Regions from separate parts of the Homo sapiens genome. Here region 2 is linked to region 1. The links are contacts of gene promoters, found by promoter capture Hi-C in blood cells and fetal thymus (Javierre and others, 2016). All regions are on one chromosome and are shown on one strand. Each heading gives the region's core, a stretch centred on a gene start or on the middle of the fragment in contact. The rest is flanking DNA. Distances are from core to core; before and after follow the strand shown.

What was found. Contacts are between HindIII fragments. The CHiCAGO score rates a contact against its expected background, and 5 or more counts as called.
Region 2: a contact is called between a fragment that was not itself captured here and the fragment with the promoter of LGR6 in region 1, in 1 of 17 cell types (M2 macrophages). The highest score is 5.5, in M2 macrophages.

What each region holds. Positions count from the first base shown.
Region 1 is chr1:202,191,334-202,197,032 of GRCh38, reverse strand. LGR6 (leucine rich repeat containing G protein-coupled receptor 6) reads right to left here and starts at 3,234. Exons shown (of 18, transcript NM_001017403.2): 1 at 2,832-3,234. The coding sequence starts at 3,043. RefSeq lists enhancers at 4,101-4,150, 3,845-4,648. The HindIII fragment of the contact is 23,199 bases long and covers 1-5,699 here.
Region 2 is chr1:202,655,875-202,661,573 of GRCh38, reverse strand. All of the region lies in intron 1 of SYT2 (synaptotagmin 2), which reads left to right. Among named protein-coding and RNA genes, the nearest start is that of SYT2, 52 kb to the left of the region's middle. RefSeq lists an enhancer at 3,026-3,527 and a silencer at 4,061-4,220. The HindIII fragment of the contact is 4,274 bases long and covers 684-4,957 here.

The DNA.
Region 1 (5,699 bases), core at 1,985-4,484:
CTGCTACTTCCTGCATGTCCAAGTGTTTTAACATTTTTCATTTTAACTCTGTGTCAGGAGGACCTAAGTCCCCACTCTCCCTCCCGATCCCCAACCCCCAATTTTCACCAACTGGTTGGGCTCCAAGTCCCCAGAACCAGCCAAGTATTGATCAAGAGTTGCCCTGACAGTCACCTCCCCAGCACACAGCTCTCTTCCTCCAGCCACAAACCATTCCCTTGAATTCTACACTCACCCACTAGGCTCAATTTTCTTCTGGTGTGGAGAGGCCTGGTAGTTTACCTCCACCTCCATGGAGCACCCATAGGAGGCATGATAATACTAGCCACCATTTCAGAGTTACCCTCGGGTGTCAGGCACTCTGGGGACTTTCATTGAACATATTATCTCATTTAATCCACTCAGCAACCTGCTTCCTCATCTCCATGTACACATGAAGAACCTGAGGCTTAGAGGTGTTCAGTGAGTGATTCTCAGTAGGTGGCAGAGCTAGGAAGGAACCAAAGTTTGAGTGGCTCAGAGAGAGGCACTGCTGATTATATCATCAGATGCGAATCTGTGCTCTCCTCAGCAAGGGCTGGGATACATGGGGCAGGGCCAAGCTGGACATCTCCTAACATCGCTGAAAAGAGAAAGGAGCCCCAAGACTTCCCCACCCTGGCTCTTCTGCATGCCAGCTCTCAACCCCACCTTCAGGTGCCTTTCTGGTAGAGCTGTTCTCCAGAGAGGGCAAAGAAAGAAAATTCCTCCTCTGAGACACCCTCAGGACAACTGTAGGAATCCTTCATGCACCATCCAGATGGGACCCCTCCCCAGCCCAGGGCAGGGGACACGGTCCTCTGCCACCTCCTTCCAATATTCCAGACCCCACTGCTAAATTCCCCATATTGCCTCAGGACCCATCATACTCTTTATAGCTCCCACTCCCTCTCTTCTCTCCACAACTCTCAGAAGCATCCCCTGAGTCTTGAGAGAGAGGGGCTTTCTCAATCCCCAGGAAGACACAGACCAGCTCAGAAAACCCCACCTCCACTGAACCCAAATGCAGACTTCACAGCTCCGAGGGAATTGTGGCAAGCTAGTGGGAAAAACTTCTGCCAGCATGGATGGTAGGATGCTTGAATTCCAAAGGTGACAGTGTACCTCCTTCCCCAAGTCCTTCTAGAAAAAGGGTCATTAACCAGTCTAGGAAGACTTAATGCTGGGAAAGGAAGCTCTGGAAGGCCTTATCTCCCCTGCCCCTTCAACCCAGGCAAGGGACCTTCCTTCAGCTCACCCAGAGAAAGGCTCCACAGAAGTCACATCTAAACTCTTTAGCCACAGGACCCTGTCTTCAAATGAACCAATGTCACATACTCCCAGGATAGAAAACTGCTGAAAGAGGGGCTGGCCTGTGTGTAGGGTGGGGCCGGAGCCTGCCCTGCTTTGCCAGATGCTGAGCGCCCAGGCTCTGTGCAGTTGGTACCTTTATTCCCATGATTGCCTCTGCCGTCACCTACTGCACTGTGAAGGATTCCATTTGTCCTTCTAGATGGACATTATTTTTCTCTTCCCACTCCCTTACCTGGCCCACAGCCTGTGCCTTTTGGAGTGGAGGGGGACATCCCAACCTGGGGACAGGGACATTTGGAGAGGAGCCCCATGAAGAGTTGCCCTCTGGGACCCTCTACCTCCCACCAGGACACTCCCAACACTGAGCATCTTTAGTTCCACAAATTCTTGCTAGGCCCCTATAAAGATTCACCCAGCCTCCTCTTCCTCTAAGCTCCCATGTGCTGGAACCCCAAAGCCATAAGGAGCCTCTCTCAGGCCAGAAGGAACTCTGGGATCCTAGCCCTCAGCAGAAGGCCCCACCAGGCTTTCCCACCTGCTCCCAGCTCCTCTGAGGAAGTTGATAGAGCCTGCAGAGCTGGGCTGGAGGAGGTTTCCTTGCCCCAGAGCGGGGCTGGGGGTGCAGGTGGGTGGCCTGGAATGTGCTCTCTCACCCTCCTCCTGCCCAGGTGGTGAGCAGCCAGAGCCCCCAGCCCTCCAGCTCTGAGGGGAAGCTCCCATGAGCCAGACAGACAGGACAGCTGCCCCCAGTAGGGTCCCCTTCACGCGCCATCTCACCCCAACTCAGACGCTAAAAATGGTTCTCTGGTTTTCAGCCTCGGCGCCTGCCCACAAATTAGTGTCTCCAACACAGCCTCTTGGGACATGACTTTAGGGAGGCCCCTGGGGGAGCCAGGAGGCCCCAGTGAAGGGAGATGGTGCTGGCAGAGTCCCTTTCTGAGGAGACAAGAGTGGATAAGGCCCCCCTCCCAGCTTCTAGGAAACCCGCCCCCCCCGCCCCCACGAAGGCCACCCAGCCTCAGTGTGACAGCCCTGTTGTCCTCACCATGGCAGAAGAACAGACATTATTTCCACCCTACTGGGGCACGCTCCCCTCACCTCCACCTCCAGTTCTGTCAGCTTTACCCTCAGCCACCATCCCGGGCACTGCTCTGCTAGAAGAGAATGCAGCAACAGGAGATGGAGCAGCCAGCCCCGCGCCCTCCCGCTCAGGGTCCAGAACCCACCTCGCCAAGCCTGGGCTCCCATAGTCAGCCCACAAGCACGGAGGCCAATGGGGAAGCCAAGTCAGGGAAGCCCGGTCTCCCTGCTCGCCTGGTATTTAGTCTCAGACTCTTCTCCCCTCCCCAGTCCCGCAACGGTCAACTTGGAAGGGGGCAAACCCTCTCCGGGATGCCCATGCCCCAGGGCACCAAGCAAGCAGGTGCCCTGCTGAGGCCGGGACTGGGCGCTAGCCAGCAGCCCGCAGGACCAGGCGGGGACAGGCGGGCAGTACTCACAGGTAAGCCGTCAGGGGGTCCAGGTCCCCCGGAACGGCGGACAGCCCGAGCTCAGAGCAGTCGGCAGACAGCATGATGCCGTCCTCCTGGCAGTGGCAGGGGGCCGGGCAGGCGGTGGGCCCCGGGCCGGGCTGGGGGGCGCCGCCGGCCCTCCGGGAAGCGCACAGCGCGGCGCAAAGCCATAGCGCCCGGAGCCCCGGCGGGCTGGGCATCTCGGCGGTCGGGCTACTGGGGCACCTGGCGGCCGGGCGCGGACGCACGGCGCGATGGCCGCAGCTGCTTCCTCCCGGTCCCGGCGGGCTGCACCGTCGGTGGGGACCGCCCCAGGGGCTCTATTGGGCGGCGGCGGCGGCGGTGGGAGCGCCGGGACGGTGCAGTCAGAGAGGGGCAGGCATTGTTGAGTGATCTTCGTTATTCAGTTTCACAGGCTGGGCTTGGCAAGGGAGGGAGACCCAGCCGGAGGAGGAGTCAAGGAAACTTTCTACACTGCGGCTCGCTCCTCTTCCCTCCTTCCTTCGGAGCTGGCAGGAATTTCATCCAGGAAAGAAAAAAAAAAAAGGAAGAAAGCAAAGAAACCCAAGCGAGCAAAGCTCAGCCCGTCAGAGACCTGCATTTGTTTGGATAGGGTGTCCCAGGGCCTTGGCCGCAGGGCTGGGGACCCTCTTGCCTTTGGGGACAGCCACGAGGTCACATGGGACCCAGAGGAGGTCTCTGAAAGAGGCCTTGGGGCTCCCATTGCCCCTCATGCCTCCACCACGTTTCACACTGCAGGAAACTGAGACCCAAGAGGCAAAATGATTTGTTCAAGGTGACACAGCTGATGGGACATCCCCAGAGCTGGAACTCGTCCACCCTCCCTGGCCTGTCTGCTAGGACAGGAGAGAGGGGAGTGAGGGGCTACCCTGGAAGAGGCCAGGCTGCGGAGGGTTCCACTGCAGGCTGGGATGACCCGACGGTGGGCAACCAGGAGCAGTCTCCTCACTGAGAGGCCGGGCCTTGACTCCAAAGAAACGGGTGTGGAGTTACACCCGCTGAGTGCACCCTGGGTGGAAATGCACTCCTGCAGCCTCTGTCAGGTTTACGGCCTGGGGACCACCTTGATCCCTGCTCCCAGGACCTCGGGAGTCTGAGGGACTGTGGGCAGCTCAGCTGGTTGTCAGAGCCCACCTCAAAGTAAGCGGATTGGTGCCACCTGGAGGCCGGGTGCTGCACCTGCAGCTCAGCCACCCTGAGGCTGGAATCCCACCAAGTGGCTGACCTGGGCCGGCCCCAGAGCCCTGGAGAGCAAAGGGCATGGTGGTTAAAACTGAGGTCAATCCCTGTTCTCTCCTTAGACCATAGTGAGCTGGCTGTGCTTCCTTCATGCAGCCTCTTGCTCTCTCTGGTCTCTCCCATGCTGAGCCAAGCCCCCGCGCAGAGCTAGAGCAGGCTGTGGGCCCCCCTCCTTCCTTTTTTTGCCCTATCTCCCCATGGTCCAGCCAGAGGGTATACTAGAAACCTGGGACCTCAGAGGCATCCAGGATTTCTTCCACCCTGTCTTTCCACATGCCAGGATCCTCTCATCAACACCTCTCCACTCTCCCAATAACCTCCCAGGGCTAGAGGGGCTGCATAGCTGGACCAAGAAATGAGCAGACCTTGACCCTAGGCCTCCAGTTGGTGCCATGGCGCTGAAAGTAGAAGACGAGCCTCCGCTCTCGCTCTCCCTCTCCCTCTCCCCTCTTTCCACGGTCTCCCTCTGATGCCGAGCCGAAGCTGGACTGTACTGCTGCCATCTCGGCTCACTGCAACCTCCCTGCCTGATTCTCCTGCCTCAGCCTGCCGAGTGCCTGCAATTGCAGGCGCATGCCGCCACGCCTGACTGGTTTTCGTATTTTTTGGGTGGAGACGGGGTTTCGCTGTGTTGGCCAGGCTGGTCTCCAGCTCCTAACTGCGAGTGATCCGCCAGCCTCGGCCTCCCGAGGTGCCGGGATTGCAGACGGAGTCTCCTTCACTCAGTGCTCAATGGTGCCCAGGCTGGAGTGCAGTGGCGTGATCTCGGCTCGCTACAACATCCACCTCCCAGCAGCCTGCCTTGGCCTCCCAAAGTGCCGAGATTGCAGCCTCTGCCCGGCCGCCACCCCGTCTGGGAAGTGAGGAGCGTCTCTGCCTGGCCGCCCATCGTCTGGGATGTGAGGAGCCCCTCTGCCTGGCTGCCCAGTCTGGAAAGTGAGGAGCGTCTCTGCCCAGCCGCCATCCCATCTAGGAAGTGAGGAGCACCTCTTCCCGGCCGCCATCCCATCTAGGAAGTGAGGAGCGTCTCTGCCCGGCTGCCCATCGTCTGAGATGTGGGGAGCGCCTCTGCCCTGTCGCCCCGTCCGGGATGTGAAGAGCGTCTCTCCCCGGCCGCCCCGTCTGAGAAGTGAGGAGACCCTCTGCCTGGCAACCGCCCTGTCTGAGAAGTGAGGAGCCCCTCCGCCCAGCAGCCGCCCCGTCTGAGAAGTGAGGAGCCCCTCCGCCCGGCAGCCACCCCGTCTGGGAAGTGAGGAGCGTCTCCGCCCGGCAGCCACCCCGTCCGGGAGGGAGATGGGGGGGTCAGCTCCCCGCCTGGCCAGCCGCCCCGTCCGGAAGGGAGGTGGGGGAATCAGCCCCCCGCCCGGCCAGCCGCTCGGGAGGTGAGGGGCGCCTCTGCCCGGCCGCCCCTACTGGGAAGTGAGGAGCCCCTCTGCCCGGCCAGCCGCCCCATCCGGGAGGGAGGTGGGGGGGTCAGCCCCCCGCCTGGCCAGCCGCCCCGTCCGGGAGGTGAGGGGCGCCTCTGCCCGGCCGCCCCTACTGGAAAGTGAGGAGCCCCTCTGCCCGGCCAGCCGCCCCGTCCGGGAGGTGTGCCCA
Region 2 (5,699 bases), core at 1,571-4,070, 460 kb before region 1:
AGGCTGCCGAGTGGCATAGGGCAACCACGAGGGAATGTTATCGATGGCCTGACACCGTGTTTGGGGGATTAGCCCGTCCTCACATGTAATTATGAGGCATAGGATCATGCAAAGGGACAAGGCTGCACTGGAGAAAAAGGATATACCTTGTACTCAGCAGTGGTGATGAGTGAGCTGGGGAGGAAGGCGAAGCCATCCATCTCTTCTAGGCTGCTTCTGCTTGGCATAGCCAGTAGGTGGCCCCAGTAGGTGCCACCCAGTAGGTGGCAAGTGATAACTGGCTGGACCCTGCCCTCTAGCTTGGGATTTGGAACTGAGGGTTCCCAGGGGCAGGTGGTCCTAAGGGCTATCTCTTCCACGGCCCTTTTCTGACAGGAAGGGCTGTGCACTTAACCTTAGCATCCAGCACAGTGCCCAGCAGGAGTCAGCACTCCATAGCATTGATTGAATCAATGAATACACAAATTATATGGTCCATGAGGGCACGGATTTTTATCTCATTCAGTGCTCTGTCCCCAGCACCTGGAGCCATGTCTGGAGTGGAGTAGATGCTCAATAAGCATGTGCTGAATGATTAAGTGACTTGAGGAAAGGGATGCAGAAGTATGATACTGTGGCAGAAGAAGCAAAGCACTAGAGAGTCCTTAAGTCCGGATAGAAGGAAGGCTGGGGGAGACGAAGCTTGCAATGTGCTGCGAGCATAGGCGCCCACATCTAATTACCTGGGAGCGATGGGCTCAGAACCATCTCTCCTTTCCTCTGGGGAAGTGCTTCTCAGAATGTGATCCACCGGCATGACGCGGTGGCTTATACCTGTAATCCCACCACTTTGGGAGGCTGAAGTGGGAGGATTGCTTGAGCCCAGGAGTTCAAGACCAGCCTGGGCAGAATAGCAAGACCCCATCTCTATAAAAATATTTTTTAAATTAAAAATGTTTAAAAATAAAAAAATAAAGATGGTCCACTGATCACCATGTCAAAATCTCCTGGAGCACCAGAACTGAGCTTGCTGAATCAAAATCTCTGGAGTTGGGCCTGGGAATCTGAACTTTATGGAAGTTTCCAGAAGATTTTCAATGCATGTTAAAGTCTGGGAGCTATTTGGTGAAAGCTGCTGTGGAAGAGATTCCTGTCTTTCTCACCTGCTGGGGTAGTAGCGGTAACAGAAGTTGTAGCCACCATTAGCTGAGGGCATACATGCATTGTCATGTGATCCTCCCAGCAGCCTTATGAAGTATTACTTTTCCTCTTACAGATGAGGAAACTGAGGTTCTGACAAGTTATTGAACTTGCCCCATGTCATGCAGCTAAAAGGTAGCATAGTCAGGACCGAAGTCCAGCTTGTATATATCACACTGTACTACTCTGCTAGTTCCTTCTGCTTTTCTGGTGAGATGTTCCCCCTTGTGGCTAACTCAGGTCTCCCTTACTGTCCTCAGAACCCAGCCCCTTGTCCTGACCCCAGGAGGAGAGAGCTGTCACCTCAACTGGCAATGGGCATTGCTCCAGCCTGTGTTTTGATGGAAATACACGAAGCAGAGGGGACAGAGATTCTTGGGCAGAGAATCAGTTTGTTTTCATTGAAGGACCTCCGTGCCAAGCTCAGGTCTGGAGGTACCTCCTGCCTGGGACCCAGGGGGTTTAATGGCAGGGAGGAGCGGTCCTGCAGGTAGTAGCTCTGACCCTACCAGCCCAGCTCCCCACCCCTCACCCCCAACTTACATGTCAGCAGCTGTCACCTGCTCGACAGATGGGCTGACTGGCAGCACCTCTCCCTGGGCTGTACCCAGATTGGCTCGGCTATGCCCTGGCTGCCCCTAAGCTAGAACCATCTGTGCCCAAGAGAGACCCAACATTAGAGGAGAAGGGCAGATGGGGCTCTCGCAGCCCCTCCAGGTCATGGGGAGAGAGCTTAGGACCTTGTGATGCTCACCACCTGCTGTGCCCAAATTGGGCACCTGAGAGCCAGGACGGAGACTGCAGGGGCAGCTCTACTTCCCCTGCAAGGGGCTTTCAGAGTCGTTTCCAAGGCTAAAATGCCACTTACTGGCCACACACTGCCAGCCTGACCACACTTCTAAGCTATCTCTTTTTGCCGCTCTCTTTCTGTCAGCAAAGAGCCCCCAGTGTCACTCCACAGCAGTTGGAGTCCCGGGAAACCCTCTGCTTGGTGGAAGGGAGGGGCTGAGCTGGCAGGGATAGGTCTGCCCCTGGTTCCATTCAGCCCTTCTTCTGGATTTATTTTCACAGCTGATTGAACTCATCACCTTTTTAACGGGGAAAACAGAGCTGGACTAAAAAGTTCCCTTAAAATGAAACCCAAGATCAGAAGAACACGGACAGAGGTAGCATGTGTGCAGAATTAGTTTGCTGTGCATTGGGAAAGGGGAGGGGTCCCTTCCACCAGGGAAGGAGACAGGGTGGTCAATTTCATGCCCTTCTGAGAATGCTGCAGCAGATTTGGTATTTGATACTCCAAAGGGGGAGGGGTGTTGTCATTTTCCCTCCATCCCTCAAAAAACTCATTCAGAAAGAGAGACAGAGATTTTCTTGAGTCTAAAGGCCTCTGCCTCTATGTGAAGGAGGCTTATGCCGGATCCCCTAGGGACTGGGAAATTGAGAAGCTCTCCAATCTGGCAAGCATTTAAGTTCAATCAGTCTGTGTCCCAGCTTTTAGGAAGGGAAAATCGGCCACTTCATACTCCTTCTACCTAGACCTCCTGACTTCACCAGGAGCAGGGTTCAGGGGGCCACACACTGGCAGGGGCAAGAGGAGGGTGCCAGCACCCTGAATTGGGAGGGGTTGACACATTTTGAGGCAATCTGGCCACTCCTTTTTTAAAGCATTTGGCTGCGCATTTCCCTGGGAAATGAGGACTTTTAGGAAAAAAAAAAAAACTAATAAAAAAAATCCGACCACTGCATTGCAGTGCCTCTGAGATTGGTGCAGGCTGCTCAGCTGCTGTCTGAGGCACACACACGCCACACGTACTCACAGCTTGCACCTAGGCCCCCAGTCTTCTTACCCCCTCTGGCAGCTGCTGTCATAGCCTGGGGGCCAGAGGCGGGGAGTGGGGACTTCAGCCATCCTGCCACTCAGCTCTGGACTGGACCAGGGCAGGATCCAAGAGGCATCAGTAGAGGCAAAGGTAGGGATTTCTGACGCAGGGAGGGGACACGGTGGCTAGGCCTGGCTGGCTTCCTGGTCTGTGGCTCTGCTGCCTCTACTGCCCTTGCCGCACACTCTGGTTATTGCCACCATCCAGGGCACTTTTAGCTGAAACCTGCACAGTCCCACTCCTGGCACCATCCAGTGCAGATGCCCTCGTCATTTTTTCCTTTTTCTTTCCAAAAAAGGGGCCAGTCAGCTTTGTCATCCACCCACCTGCAGTCTCCCAGCTCACAGAGCCATGGAATATCAGAGCCGAAAGGACCCTAAGAGATCATCTAGTCCAATCCTTTTAGTTTATTAATAAGGAACCTGAGACCCAGAGAGGAAAGGTGACTTGCCCAAGGTCACTCGATGAGCTCTGGGCAGAGCTGATCCTACAGCGTGGGCCCAGAGGTGGCACAGAAAGTGCTTTGAAACATGCTGAGTGAACCCAAGTGAGAGGGTCCCCAGGAAGGGGCTGGTGACTTCCTGCTGATTGAGTAATGAATTCATTGATTAGCTGTTCAAGGCAGTCAAAGAGGAGATGCAGGATCAGCATTACGTCCCCACCAAACATACCCTGAGCTCTCCGCAGGGCCCTGACCCCGCTGTAGCCCTCTGCTTTCACCCTCCAGGAGCCCTCTACCCACCTGCTGGCTTCCAGTGCTTGTCAAGGACAGTGAGGGGATCCCAGGGCTGTTGTCTATGCTGACTGCACTCAGTTTCTGGACCCAGAAACTGAAACCAGGGGAAGGGGGAGGCCAAGAAAAGGGGGGTCCTTTACATCTCTCACCCCAGGAGCCAGGGTCCCTAAGGCGATCTCACAGCTCTCCAGTGTGAGGGAGGAGAGGGGAAATGCAGTGACCGCCACACCAACATTTTCCCGCTCACAGAGCTGTCTGACTGCTCCCTCCCTGACTTCTCCCAGAGCCTTGTGGTAGCCCCCAGTCACTGCATGCCTTCCCTTCAAATGCCTAAGAAGCCAGGAGCAGCTTCTGTCCAGGGTCCTGACCCCACCTCCCAGGGAAATGGACTTCAGATCTCACTGGGAGAAGAGAGAATCGTAGGTGGAGAAAGAGGCCCACTTTGGGTCTTGGGCATCTCTTCTAAAGGGTGCCCTTGAGACTCTTCTGGTGGGTTGCTCTAAAGACCGTGGTGAACGTGGCTCTTGTGTGGGTGTGCTTGGACTGGCTGTGCCAGAGACTGGACCTGATGAAAAGGCTTCTGTGTCATGACCATGATGAGGTTGGCTCAGCCTCAGTCTGACCTGGAATTTGGACAGTTGGCTCTTATGTAGGGTGTGCTGTGCTTCTCTGGACATCCCATTTTAAAAAGGACATACACAAAAATGAGCTGTGCCCGGAAGAATTTGGCCAGCAGGGCAGAGGCAATGGAAAACACTGGAACAAGAGTGGAAAGATCAGTTTGGATTAGACAAAGGCACCCAGGGAAGCCATGGTGGCTGCTTCCAGAGAGCTGGAGAGTGGTCCTGTATTCTGAAGGGCTGGACTCTGTCTGGCAGTGGAAGCCACAGGGAGAGAGATTTTAGTTCAAGATAGGAAGTCCACTGTAACTCTTAAAGATGTCCAAACAGTGGGAAGAGCATAATGTGGTGGGTTGCCTGTTGCTGGAATGTTCTAGCAGAGGCTGGTTAGGGAATTCCTGCATGAAGCAGGAGGTTGGGCTGGGGATAGCTAAGTGAAAACACAAAGGAAACTTACCTATGTCATGGCTGTGGCACGAGGTTCGGCCCTCCACATATGTGTGGTATGTCAAAGTTAACATGTGGTCCAGCTCATCTAAGCTTCGCACCATCCTTGCCAAAAAAGGCATTATTTCCTGCTTTTATAGATGTCACAATGAGCCTTAGAGAGGTTAAAGACACTTCCCTAAGGCTGTCCGCTTGGGAAGCAGCAGTTGGGACTTGAACCCAGGTCTGTCTGGCTCCTGATCCCTTGGTCTTTGCACTCTACCATCCTTGGCTCCAAGTTTCAGGCTCACAGGGCCCTGGGCTAAATGCCCAGACAGAGGCTTGCACCACTCCTGCTCTGAGTCTAAAATCAAGAAGATAGGGGAGCCGAAGCCCTCAGGGGCCGAGGATCTGGAGTCGGGAAATTTCTGTTTACCTTGGAGTCCAACAGCAATGACCAGCAGGGGACCCCAGAGTTCAGCCTCTGGCTTACCCTGACCAGGCTGATGCTCCGTGACTGACTGTTCTGATTGGAGCATGTGAGCGTTTGTGCCTGTGTGCATGCATGCAAGTGTGCATATGTGCACGTGTGTGTGTGTGTGTGTGCGTTCCAAAGCCCGCTTTCCCCCAGTGCTGCATGCTCACTCTTCACCCCCTTTCTTACAGGCACGGCCCGCTGTTCACCCACTCCTCTCTGCACACAATAAGCCACACTTTCTGGTCCTTATTTCTTGGCCTGGGGTCACACCTGTTGCTGCTCAGACAGGGAAGCCCCCCTCTCCTATCTGGCCCAGCACTTTTTGCCCCAAGCAGGCCCACTCGCTCCATGGTCACCTTGCGCATGATCACCCTTCCCTG